Linked DNA regions of Homo sapiens: region 2 is linked to region 1. Evidence: promoter capture Hi-C in 16 types of primary human blood cells and fetal thymus (Javierre and others, 2016). All regions are on one chromosome and are shown on one strand. The core of a region is centred on a gene start or on the middle of the fragment in contact, and the rest is flanking DNA. Distances in the headings are between cores, read along the strand shown. Region 1 holds the start of LINC01480 (long intergenic non-protein coding RNA 1480). Region 2 holds the start of SERTAD3 (SERTA domain containing 3).

The links. Contacts are between HindIII fragments. The CHiCAGO score rates a contact against its expected background, and 5 or more counts as called.
Region 2: the fragment with the promoter of SERTAD3 here is called in contact with the fragment with the promoter of LINC01480 in region 1 in 1 of 17 cell types (naive CD8 T cells); the score reaches 6.9 in naive CD8 T cells.

What each region holds. Positions count from the first base shown.
Region 1 is chr19:41,533,777-41,539,530 of GRCh38, forward strand. LINC01480 (long intergenic non-protein coding RNA 1480) reads left to right here and starts at 1,722. Exons shown (of 3, transcript NR_110724.1): 1 at 1,722-1,825; 2 at 1,938-2,007; 3 at 2,825-3,128. The HindIII fragment of the contact is 2,878 bases long and covers 1,434-4,311 here.
Region 2 is chr19:40,442,016-40,447,658 of GRCh38, forward strand. It overlaps SERTAD3 (SERTA domain containing 3), which reads right to left and starts at 2,320. Exons shown (of 2, transcript NM_203344.3): 1 at 2,200-2,320; 2 at 1-71. The coding sequence starts at 65. It overlaps SERTAD3-AS1 (SERTAD3 antisense RNA 1), which reads left to right and starts at 2,502. Exons shown (of 2, transcript NR_187496.1): 1 at 2,502-2,613; 2 at 2,875-3,248. RefSeq lists silencers at 1,167-1,546, 2,012-2,071, 2,252-2,571, 2,632-2,851. The HindIII fragment of the contact is 20,405 bases long and covers 1-4,667 here.

The DNA of each region.
Region 1 (5,754 bases), core at 472-2,971:
GCTCTCAGGCCCAGCAGACTCACGTCCAAAGACAGGGCCTGGAACAAAGACAGCACTTGACTTTTATACACACTTCACAAAAGGGGGTGGGCCAGCTTGAAGCAAGCTTACAGTGGTGTGAAAGCAGGGATACAGAGGCAGGAAAAAGACAGTTAATCAAATTGTAACAGGTTCATAACTCAGGATTGCACATAACTGTTGCTATGCAACCCAGATGTCTATTATCTAGGTTTTGCTCTAAAGAGGCTTGCATTGGTTTATCTTCACTATGGTGCCTAGAGAGCTGTAGTTCAGGCCTGCTCAGGCTTCTCATGACCTTTGCCATACTTCTTAGATAAAACAGAATACTTGAAGTTACTAGTTAAAGAGAACAAGAATCTATAAACTCATACCATAAAACAAAGGAAAATTTGTTTTTCTTCTCCCTACATTGAAGGAGTGCTGGAAGAGTCTCCAGAATACAATAAATAATATTATCAAGACTTTTCCTGGGTCTGGGCTGTGCCTGTTGCTGCCTCTGGGACAAGTTAGCTTAATACAAGAAAGCTTATTTCCCTTTCTTTTTAATTTTATTTTTCTTTAATTTCCCACCTCAGTTTTACTTTGCATTTCCCTGAGAATTTTTAATAAGTAAAATACTTAGAAATATACTTAACCAAGTAGGTTAATGTAAGTTTCCTACAAGGAAAACTACAAAATAGTGCTGAAAGAAATCACAGTTGACACAAACAAATGGGAACACATTATAAGCTTATGAATAGGTAGAATCAATATTGTGAAAGTGACCATACTCTCCAAAGCCATCTACAGAGCAGTAGAATTCTCATCAAAATATCATCATTCTCCTTCCCAGAACTAGAAAAAAGAATCCTAAAATTTATACAAAACCAAAAACGTGACCGCATATCCAAAGCAATACTTTGCAAAAAGAACAAATCTGAAGGCAGGCTTTAAATTATACTACAAGGCTACAATCACCAAAATAGCATGATACTGGTATAAAATATGCACATAGAGCAATAGAACAGAATAGAGAACCCAGAAATAAAGCCAAATGCTTACAGACAACTAATCTTCAACAAAGTACACAAAAACATTAATTGGGGAAAGGATACTTTATTCAATAAATGGTGCAGGAAGTATAAAAATAGGCACATAGAGCAATGGAACAGAATAGAGAACCCAGAAATAAAGCCAAATGCTTACAGACAACTAATCTTCAACAAAGTATGCAAAAACACTAATTGGGGAAAGGACACTTTATTCAATAAATGGTGCAGGAAGTATAAAAATAGGCACATAGAGCAATGGAACAGAATAGAGAACCGAGAAACAAAGCCCGGTACTTTCAGTCACCTGATCTTTAACAAAGCATATAAAAACTTCCATCTAAGACCTGAAAGTCTAAAAATGCTACAAGATAGCATCCAAAAAGCTTTTCTAGACATTGGCTTAGGCCAAGTAGTCATGACTAATGCCCCAAAAGCAAACGCAAAAATATAAAAATAGAATAAGATCAATAGGACCTAATGAAACCGAAAATCTTCTGCAAGGCAGAAGAAATATCAGCAGGGTAAACACACAACCCACAGTATAGGAAACAGTAGTCACAAACTAGGCATCTGACAAAGGACTAATGTCCAGACTCCAAAGGAACTGAAAGAAATCAGCAAGAAGAAAAGGTGCCATTTACCACCTTCCTGACTCATTGGCCAGAACCAATGTTAGTGGAATTAACATATGCCCCACCCCAAGTGACTTCTAAAGGGCTAACTCACCACAAGGGAGTCAGAGCAGATCTTGGACTGAGACCTACAGGACACAGGTACTGCTTTTTCTCTTTTATTTGTTTTAAATTTTATTTATGTTTTTAGATCAAATAGTTCAGATTGCATTGGTTTTTAATCTGCTGTTGTTGGATTAACATATGCTTTAAGCGACTCTTAAATAGGTGGCTCACCAGGAGAAAGGCATAGCAGAACCTGGACTGAGACCTACGGGAGACAGGTATTGCTTTTTCTCTTCTAATCATTTTAAATTTAATTTACCATCTTTCATCAAATAGCTCCGATCATATCATTATTTTTTCTTTTCTGTTTTGTTGGTGGTTTTATTGGTGGAGTTTTATTTTACTATTTTAGAAAAGCAGTCTTTTAAAAAAGACTTTTAAAAAGTTTTATTACTCTTTTTTTTAAAAAAATTATGTTTTCCCTTGATGTGCTTATTTCCTTTATAAAGATCATCACCATTAAATTACTAGGAGATACTGCGGCTGATTTTGTCATGCGTGAGATAAGAAATTTTTTGCCAAAGCAATTAGTGATGAGTGCAATGGAAAAATCCGTGATGATCTTTTAAGATGATTAACTTTCTAATCCAGAAAATGCTGCTGTTTGTACTGAACAAAATAGCTTTATTTTTATATGACCAGGGGTACATAAAATGCTTCAAAACAACACATAATTTGGCAAAAATACTATGTCTTGCCAGCCAGAAGAATAAGTGTGGTTTTATTTCTATGTATATGTCTAGTACCATGCCTGCACTAGAGTTGGGAAATTTTAAAAACATCACCTATTGATACAGAAGAGAAGTGCTGGGAAGGGAAGGGCATGGTCCCTTTGAATGATACAGAAAAGGTGAAGGAAAGTGATGGGTAGAGGAGGCCGGGGTCCCTGGCTAGGGCTCCAAACCTGGGCTTGTGCCCCTGGACCTAGATGAGGACAGGCATTTTTGTTTTCCTGACCAAATGTTGCATTTCCCAAGATCACCCTGGCCCACCATGCCCTATCCTGTGCCTAAAAAAACCCTGGGACCCTAGCAGGCAGACACACAGGAGGTTGGACGTCGAGAGGAGCACATCAGTGCAAGAACACATGGGTGGCTGCCACTTCTCTCCCTTTCCTGAGAGGGAAAAACTCTCGACGCTGAGAGGAATCCACCAACAGGCACCAGCACTCTGGCAGGCCACCGACCAATGGATTGACATAGAGTTTGGCTGGGGCAGCCAGAGGAGAGCCTGGGCCGCTGAATAACCCGACTTCAGGGGAAAACTATTCTCCCTTTTGGCTCCCCCATCTGCTGAGAGCTACTTCCACTCAATAAAACCTTGCACTCATTCTCCAAGACCACGTGTGATTTGATTTTTCTGGTACACCTAGGTAACAACCGCGGGATACAGAAAGCCCTCTGTCTTTGGGTTAAGGAATGGGTCTAATTGAGCTGGTTACCACAAAGCCACCTATAGATGGCAAAACTAAAAGAGCACATGGTACCACATGTCCACTGGGGCTTCAGCAGCTGTAAACATCTACCCCTAGATGCTGCCATGGGGTTGTAGCCCCACAACTTGCCAGTCTGTATGCTTCCCTAGAGGTTTGAGCAGCGGAGTACTAAAGAAGCAAGCCACACCCCCACTCCACCTCCTGTGAGGGGGACAAGGAAACTTTTCCCATTTCAACTGGTGGCTCGTCTGGGATCTCGGAAGGTGAGTGTGAGTGAATGGGAAACTGTTGGGCCTGCCTTTCTTCCAAAACTCTGCCACTTCTCTCCCTTTCCTGCAGGTAAAAGACTCTGTTTTCCTTTCATCTCTTTTCTCTCTCACACATTATTTGAAATGGATCTTATCTCTTCCTTTATAATGTTAAGAGTTTTGCTACAGGCTGAGGCAATGTTACTAAGTAAAATGAGCATTTGGCTCAGCCGCCAAAGGTGCAAATCAGACCAATTTTTCCTAGAGGTGCCATGTATGCCTCCACCTTGACAGCCCCAGGCATGAGCGGCTTCCAGGGCACCTCTCCTTACCCTTTTCCCTCCCAGCTCCAGCACCTAGGCATGCCTGCAGCAGGCAAAGGCCACACCCAATAGCCATGAAGGGGCAGGGGGAGCAATGTCGCAGAAGTGTCTCCCTCCACTGCCTGGGATGAGGGGGGTGTGAGAAAACCGATGGTAGCCAGGACCCTACAGAGTGCTTCTCACCCACTGCATCAATGGAACCTTTCCTTCCATGGCCAAGGAATTCAACCTGGTCTGAACTGGGGGAAGGATGGGAAAGTTATAAGGATTAGAGGGGCCCACTTGCACTAAGCAAGGGGTTCTTCCCCCAGCATTCCCCACTTTTTGCCTCTTTAACTGTTTTTCTCTTTTTTTCTTTTCTAAGTGAGAATCCCCACCGCTCTGTTTCTAATAGGGAAGTTAACAGAGGAGTGACCCCTGCTGGCTGATAATTGCAAATTCAGCAGGGCTTATTTGAGGCACTAAATGGATATAAACAGCCTCTGAAATGCTTTTTCAGTCCCAAACTCAATTCCAAGCTTCAGGCTGAGGCCCTAGAAAGAGAAAGCAGGTCTGAGGAATTCAAAGCCAGGCAACAGGCACAATGTAAATGGACAGGACCAATTCCTGCTGACTGAACCCCATCCCACAGAAGGAGGCCATGCCTCATGGGATAAAAAGGCCCAGGGAACTCAAAGTTTTTCAACAGCAGGGAGAAAAGGAAACATAGGTGAGGGCAGTTAATTCCTAATCTCCAGGTTCTCCCTGCTTCATGGGTACATACCGCATTTGTACCTGTGGCCGGCACCTGCCAAGGTTGCCAGGGCGCAGGGGTAAGAGGTGGAAAGTGAAGTGAAGATGCTTGCTTTCCCTCCCCATCACACCCTGAGCTTTTTGCCAAAAGAAGGAAGGGAAATGAGGAACACCTCTATTCCCTGTCTTTCAGAATGGGCAGCCAGTTCTCCTCACCACCCCCAGCTTGTACTCCCCTTGAGTGTATCCTGAACCATTGGGACTGTTTTGACCCTCAGAATCCAGAGGAAAAGCATCTCATAGCCCTCCGCACATAGGTTTGGCCAAATTATGGTTTACAGGAAGGACTGGCTTGGCTTCAGGAAGGGACCATTCATTTCAATACCATCCTGCAATTAGAACTTTTCTCTGGATGTGAGGACACATGGTCTGAGGCCCCAAATGTGCAGGCTTTCTATACCTTGCAAAGCAATCCAGACCTTTGCTGACATGTAGGATTGTTCCAGCCCTCCTGTTTGCTGTCTCGGGGAAGGCTGCCAGGGTCAAGCCCAGGGAATTAAAGACACGAGTCCCAGACGCACCCCCAGCTGACGTGCCAGCTCCCTCAAGCCCTGCTCCTCTGGGTCCACCCCAACCTCCGTATCCAGCTTCAGCCTCTCACCTGGCCCCTCCTAGAAATCTTCATCCCAAACAAGCCCAGTCTCACTCTTGCCCCTCCTACAGATGCCCAGTGAATTTGGGCCCAGTAAGGTCCAAGTCCTCTTTTCCCTACAAGACTTAAAGCAAATTAAGGGAGATCTGGGCAAGTGTTCAGATGACCCTGATAGATATATAGAAGCTTTCCAGAATTTCACCCTAACATTTGAACTCTCCTGGAGAGACGTTATGTTACTTTTGAGTCAGAACCTGATAGACACTGAGAAGCAGGCTGCTCTGCCAGCAGCAGAGAGATTTGGGGATGAGCTTTGCATCACCTATAGCATCAGGGAAGGGAGCGAATATTATCCAACTGGAAGAGAAGTAGCACCAGTGAAGGACCCTAAATGGGATCCCAATAATGAGATGGAAGACTGGAAGAGGAGACACTTTCAGGTGTGCATAATAGAGGGCTTACGTAGGTCTAAGACCAAGCCTCTCAATTATACTAAGTTGTCCATAATTAACCAGGGATTTGATGAAAATCCCACTGCCTTCCTGGAGAGGCTAAGAGAGGCCTTGGTAAATCAC
Region 2 (5,643 bases), core at 1,070-3,569, 1.1 Mb before region 1:
CTCCACTCCCACCTCTCCTCCTCCTCTTCCAAATCAGAGTGTTTCCTCTTCAAGCCTCCCACCATGATGCCCTGTAGAGAGAAGAGGCGCATAGGGGAAGGTCAGACACCAGACACCGTAGTGCTGGCTCATATCCCACTTTCTCAGGCCTATTGAGTTGTTAGTGATTTTTAATCATCGGAATCTCAGTTTACTGATGTATAAAATGAAGGCTGTCTGAATCCTACAAGTTTAAGAAGGTGAGTACATATACGATTAAGAAAATAAGATCTGGCGTTACGTACAGCTAGATTTAAATCTCACTTACTTGCCTGTTGTGGCCTCAAACAGTGAATTTACATCCATGAGAATCAATTTCCTCATCTGCCAAGTACGGATCCTAACTCAAGTTCCTCTAAGCCTTAAAACTGTTCTTCCACAATATTAATTTCTTCAAACATGGAGCACGAAAGACAAGTGTGGAGCACAGAGACCTGGATTGGAAGTAGGGAACCCCAAATCTGAATTCTGTATTGGAAACTGCTCAGCTGCGTGATCATGGGAAGTGATCTGAATGAGTCAATTCTCAGGGCCTCAGTTTCCTCATCTGTAAAATAGGGACTGTAAAAAAATACTTCTCACCACCTCTGTCAAGGAGATGCCACGTATCTATAGGGCCCACCACACCGGAAGTGCTTAATGAACAAGAGTTGTGTTTGTTTTTTGTTAGAGACAGGGTCTCGCTCTGTCGCCCAGGGCTGAGTGCAGCAGCGCTATCACAGCTCACTGCAGTCTCGAAGTCCTGGGCTCAAGCGATCCTCCCGCCTCAGCTTCCTGAGTAGCTGGGATTACCACCACACCCGGCCTCGATCAAGAGTTAATTGCCAGTTATTCGCTCAACAGATTTACTGAGTGCCTACTATATTCGAAATCTCCTGGAGCCCTGTTGGGGAACCTATGTTGAGATTCTTCTTCAACAGTCGGGATATTTCTATGTCCTCTTCCTTAACCGACTGGGAGCGCTCCCAAGAGTAGGAAAGGGGCCTGTCTCATTCCCTCTGCCCACGCTTTCAGATTCCCCCAAAGCGCGCCCCATAGGAAAACTTGCTAGAACTCAGCTCAGACCAAGCCCCGCCCCCTCGGAGGTCCCACTCAATCAGACCGCGACACTGTAAGGCCCCGCCCCCCCATGGGTCCTTACAGAGCATCCAGGAACGCCCCAATTTGGCCCAGGGGCTTCTGGGAAACGGGGGCCAACAGCCGCCAGGTACACGAATTGACGTCGAGCACGCACTACAATCCCCAGAGGGCTCCGCCCGTCCAGGGGACGAGCCACCCCCCTCACCCCGCTCTCCCTCAGGGCATGCGCACAGGGGCACAGGCGGGTGGGGGAAGGGAACCTGGACGTCCAGCTGCCGGCGCCTGCCGAGCCCCGCCCTCCATTGCCTCCGGGGCCGCGAGTCTGAGCTCCAGGCCCGGAACACCCCTCCCCCACCCCAGACTCCGGCTCTAAATTTGCTTTCTCCCGGTCCCTCTGTTCCTTGAAAGTCCGCGATTCTCCTTCCAAACTGCCCTTGGATCCAGAGACCCAGATCCGAACACATCGCTCAAAGACGACAATGCTCCGATCTAGTTCGGGAGACTACGTATCCTAATTCTGATACTTCCTCCCACTTCTCCTAGTCTCCTGACTTTCAAACGCCCCTGGACTTCACCTCCAAACTCGCTGTCCGGCTCCAAGACCCGAACATTGAACTCTTCCCGGCAACCTCCTTCCCCCGCCAGTGCGTCTTGGAGTCCCAAGAATCCTTGACCCTAGTTCTCTCGCTTCTCCAAATACTCAGAATCTCAGCTCCGTACCTCTCACACCTTTTCCAGAACACGATAAAGCCCCGAATTCAACCCGTCCGGAAGACCCAAGTGGAATCGAATCTCCAGGTTCCCTGTCTCAAAAGTTCCTCCCCTCTGTTCTCTCGCTTCTCCAAAAGCCCAACGTCCCAGCTTCAAACTCCCTCCACTTGAAAATACTGCCCCAACAACCTCGCCTCCCCTCCTGGGTCTTGAACTCAGTCTCAGGTCCCCAGACCCTCCCTATCATCACCCTGAATCTGAGGCCCCCTCCCCCGGTCCCACCCAGACCCCGCCTCCGCAAGTCCCCGGGGCGCGCTTCTCTCTCCCCCAGCCTAAGGTAAATTCCCAAGCCAGGCGACCACTCCTCACCGCAGCTGCCAGGTTCGCCACGACCACCTCCTGGAACGCCCACAGCGTTGCGACCCGCCAGTGCCAGGACCCACCAGTGACCGGTTGGAGCCTCGCTCACCTCGGCGGGGCCTCTCCGTCTGGCCTCTGGCCCACCAGCCCCGCCCCGGAGCCGAGCCGCGAGCCGCGATTGGCTGGAGTCCCGCCCGCCGCGGGGCGTCGATTGGCTGGGCGGAGCCATCCGCCCGTGCCCCGAGACGCCGGATCCGCCCACCCCTCCCTAGCGCCCCGGGCCATTTAAAGAAGTGCAACTGGCAGGGGGCGGGGCAGCGACTCCGGGGTGGAGGGCGGCCGGTCCAACAGAACCGCTTCCTTCCACTCAGCTACAGTCCTCGCTCCAAGATCGTCACCATTGCTCCCTGCGGTTCCTTTATGGTAGGCCTGGACTCCACCGTGGAGCCAGAGGGGCTGGCATGCCCCTCCCCAAGTCGCTGTGCAGGCGGGCGGGGCCGAGCAACCGGAGGAGGCCGCGCCCCCGGGGTTCCGAGGGAGGACGCTGGGGCGCGGGGGATGACGTAGCGGAAGACCAGCCAATAGAGTGGCGCGGCCCGCGTTGCCTAGGCGATCGTAGCCTCGCCCCCTTGCTGCCCCTCCCGCCCCCTATACGTTACCGCGCGGCCCCTTCTTAATCCTCAGGTTTTCTCAGCACGTCCTCTGGTGGTCCCACCTGGGTCTTCTGACACCCTCTTTCCTTCCCCGCTCCATCAAGATGACTCCTCTGCTACTGTTCATGGCTTCCTACCCACCCCGAATACAAACTTCAAACTCCTTCCTTTTGCCACAAAGCCCCTCACGACCTTGCTTGATGCGTTCTCCTGGTTCTCTCCGATCCTGCCCCATTGAGTCACTTCCAGTTTTTCTAAAATGGCTTCAAGCTCCCATTCACCCCATCAGGAAAACGAAAGGATTTTCTCTGTTTGTTTTCTTCCCTGCTTTACCCCAGTGTCTACAACAATGCCAGGTACATAATAAGTTCGCAAACATGACAATAAAAGGCCTCTGGATCTTTATTATTAATATTATTTTTTGCCGGGCGCAGTGGCGCACGCCTGTAATCCCAGCACTTTGGGAGGCGGAGGCGGGCAGATCACTTGAGGTCAGGAGTTTGAGACCAGCCTGGCCAACAATGGTGAAACCCCGTCTCTACTAAAAATACAAAAATTAGCTGGGCGTGGTGGCGCACGCTTGTAATCTCAGCCACTTGGGAGGCTGAGGCAGGAGAATCGCTTGAACCTGGGAGGTTGAGGTTGCAGTGAAGGCGAGATCGTGCCACTGCACTCCAGCCTGGGTGACAGAGAGATGGGGGAGGGGGGAGGGGGGTTTTCTTGTGTTGCCCAGGTTGGTTTTGAACTCCTGGCCTCAAGCAATCTTCTCGCCTCTGGATATTTAAACTTGTTTCCTCATCCTCAAAATATACCCTCAATTCCCAGGCTGCTTCTCAGAACACATTTCAAAGGTTTCCTCCTCTCCGAAGCCCTCCCTGGCAGTCCAGGTTGGGTTAGGATCCATTCTAGGATTCCATGGCCTCCTGTGCCGCCATCCCAGTCCTGGACTGTCAGTTACTATATGGACTGAGGAACGCCCCGCCGAGGGCAGGTACCAAGGATATCTCTGTCAACCACCTCTTGGTCTGCAGGATCACCTAGCACAGGGCTGGACACGTAGCAGGTCCCAGTGAAAGTTTGCTAAATGCTCAGGAATGTGACAGAAAAATAAGGCAGAAAGAAGACACTGCTAGTGTCCTGAAAGCCCACACCCGTAATGCTCCGCCCCTACAACGAGTTTCCCTAAGGGGAGGAGGCAGTTTTCTCCAGGCCACCTCTGGGAAGGGAGGTTTAAGCCTCCTCAGACCAGTTCTTGCCGGTTGGAGTTTGTCAACCAAGTCATCCTGATGTTTGCAGGATAAATGGGAGGGGAATAGGTAGGTGGGTGGTGTGGGTTGGAGGTAGGGAGAGAGAAGTGTCTTAGCTCACCCAGGCCTAGGGAAGGTGTCCCTGGGAAAAAAAGAAAGGGACAGTAGGTTCCAAAAAAGGACATAATTAGGAAGGAGCAATTCTTCCCCTTCCTCCTCCAAAACCTGCGCCTCCTATAGGGTCCACAACTCAGGAAAGCCCTACTGCATTTGGGTTTTTGTTTTTGAGACGGGGTCCCACTCCGTCGTGGATGCTGGAGTGCAGTGGCGCACCTTGGCTCACTGCAGCCTCAGCCTCCCTCCTGAAGCACTAGTGTAACTCTGTCCCCGGGTTACAGCCGTATGCTTCTTTCTGATGCCTCCCCTCCACCCCTCACCAACTGTCCACGCAGGCTCCCAGGCATTCCTCACACCCACTCTCTCCTCCCCTCCTTACAGTTCCTCCTCCAACTCCCTCTGGGCTATCAGCCTCCATTCCTGGACCCTTCCTTTCCACCTTCACAGAGTAGCCAAAGGAAGCTTCATAAAACACCCAACTGTCCCCCCTGCCTTACTTCTCTGGTGCTCCACTCCTTGCATAAATCCTCAAAATAAAGCACAAACTTTTTTTTATTTTCAGAGACAGGGTCTGGATCTGTCCTACAGGCTGGAGTGCAGTGGCCAGGCCTTGACCTCCTGGCCTCAAGCCATTCTCCCGCCTCAGCCTCCTGAGTATCTGGGACTACAGGTACACACCACCATGCCCAGCTAAGTTTTTAAAAATTATTTTGTAGAGATGGGGTCTCACTATGTTGCCCAACCTGGACTCCTGGCTTCAAGCCATCCTCCCACCTCAGCTTCCTGAGTATCTGGGACTATAGGTGCACACCACCATGCCCAGCTAAGTTATTATTATTATTATTATTGAGATGGAGTCTCGCTCTGTCACCCAGGCTGGAGTGCAGTGGCACAATCTCGGATCACTGCAACCTCCACCTCCCAGGTTCAAGCGATTCTCCTGCCTCAGCCTCCTAAGTAGCTGGGATTACAAGTGTGCATCACCACGCCTGGGTAATTTTTGTATTTTTAGTAGAGACAGGGTTTCACCATGTTCGCCAGGCTGGTCTTGAACTCCTGACCTCAAGTGATCTACCCGCCTCGGCCTCCCAATGTGCTGGGATTCCAAGCATGAGCCACCATGCCTGGCCAGACTCAATAAACTGTTACTGGGCGGGGCGCAGTGGCTCACGCCTGTAATCCCAGCACTTTGGGAGGCGAGGCAGGCGGATCATGAGGTCAGGAGATCAAGACCATCCTGGCTAACACGGTGAAACCCTGTCTCTACTAAAAATACAAAAAAATTAGCTGGGTGTGGTAGTGGGCGCCTGTAGTCCCAGCTACTGGGGAGGCTGAGGCAGGAGAATGGTGTGAACCTGGGAGGTGGAGCTTGCAGTGAGCCAGATTGCGCCACTGCACTCCAGCCTGGGCGACAGAGCAAGACTCGGTCTCAAAAA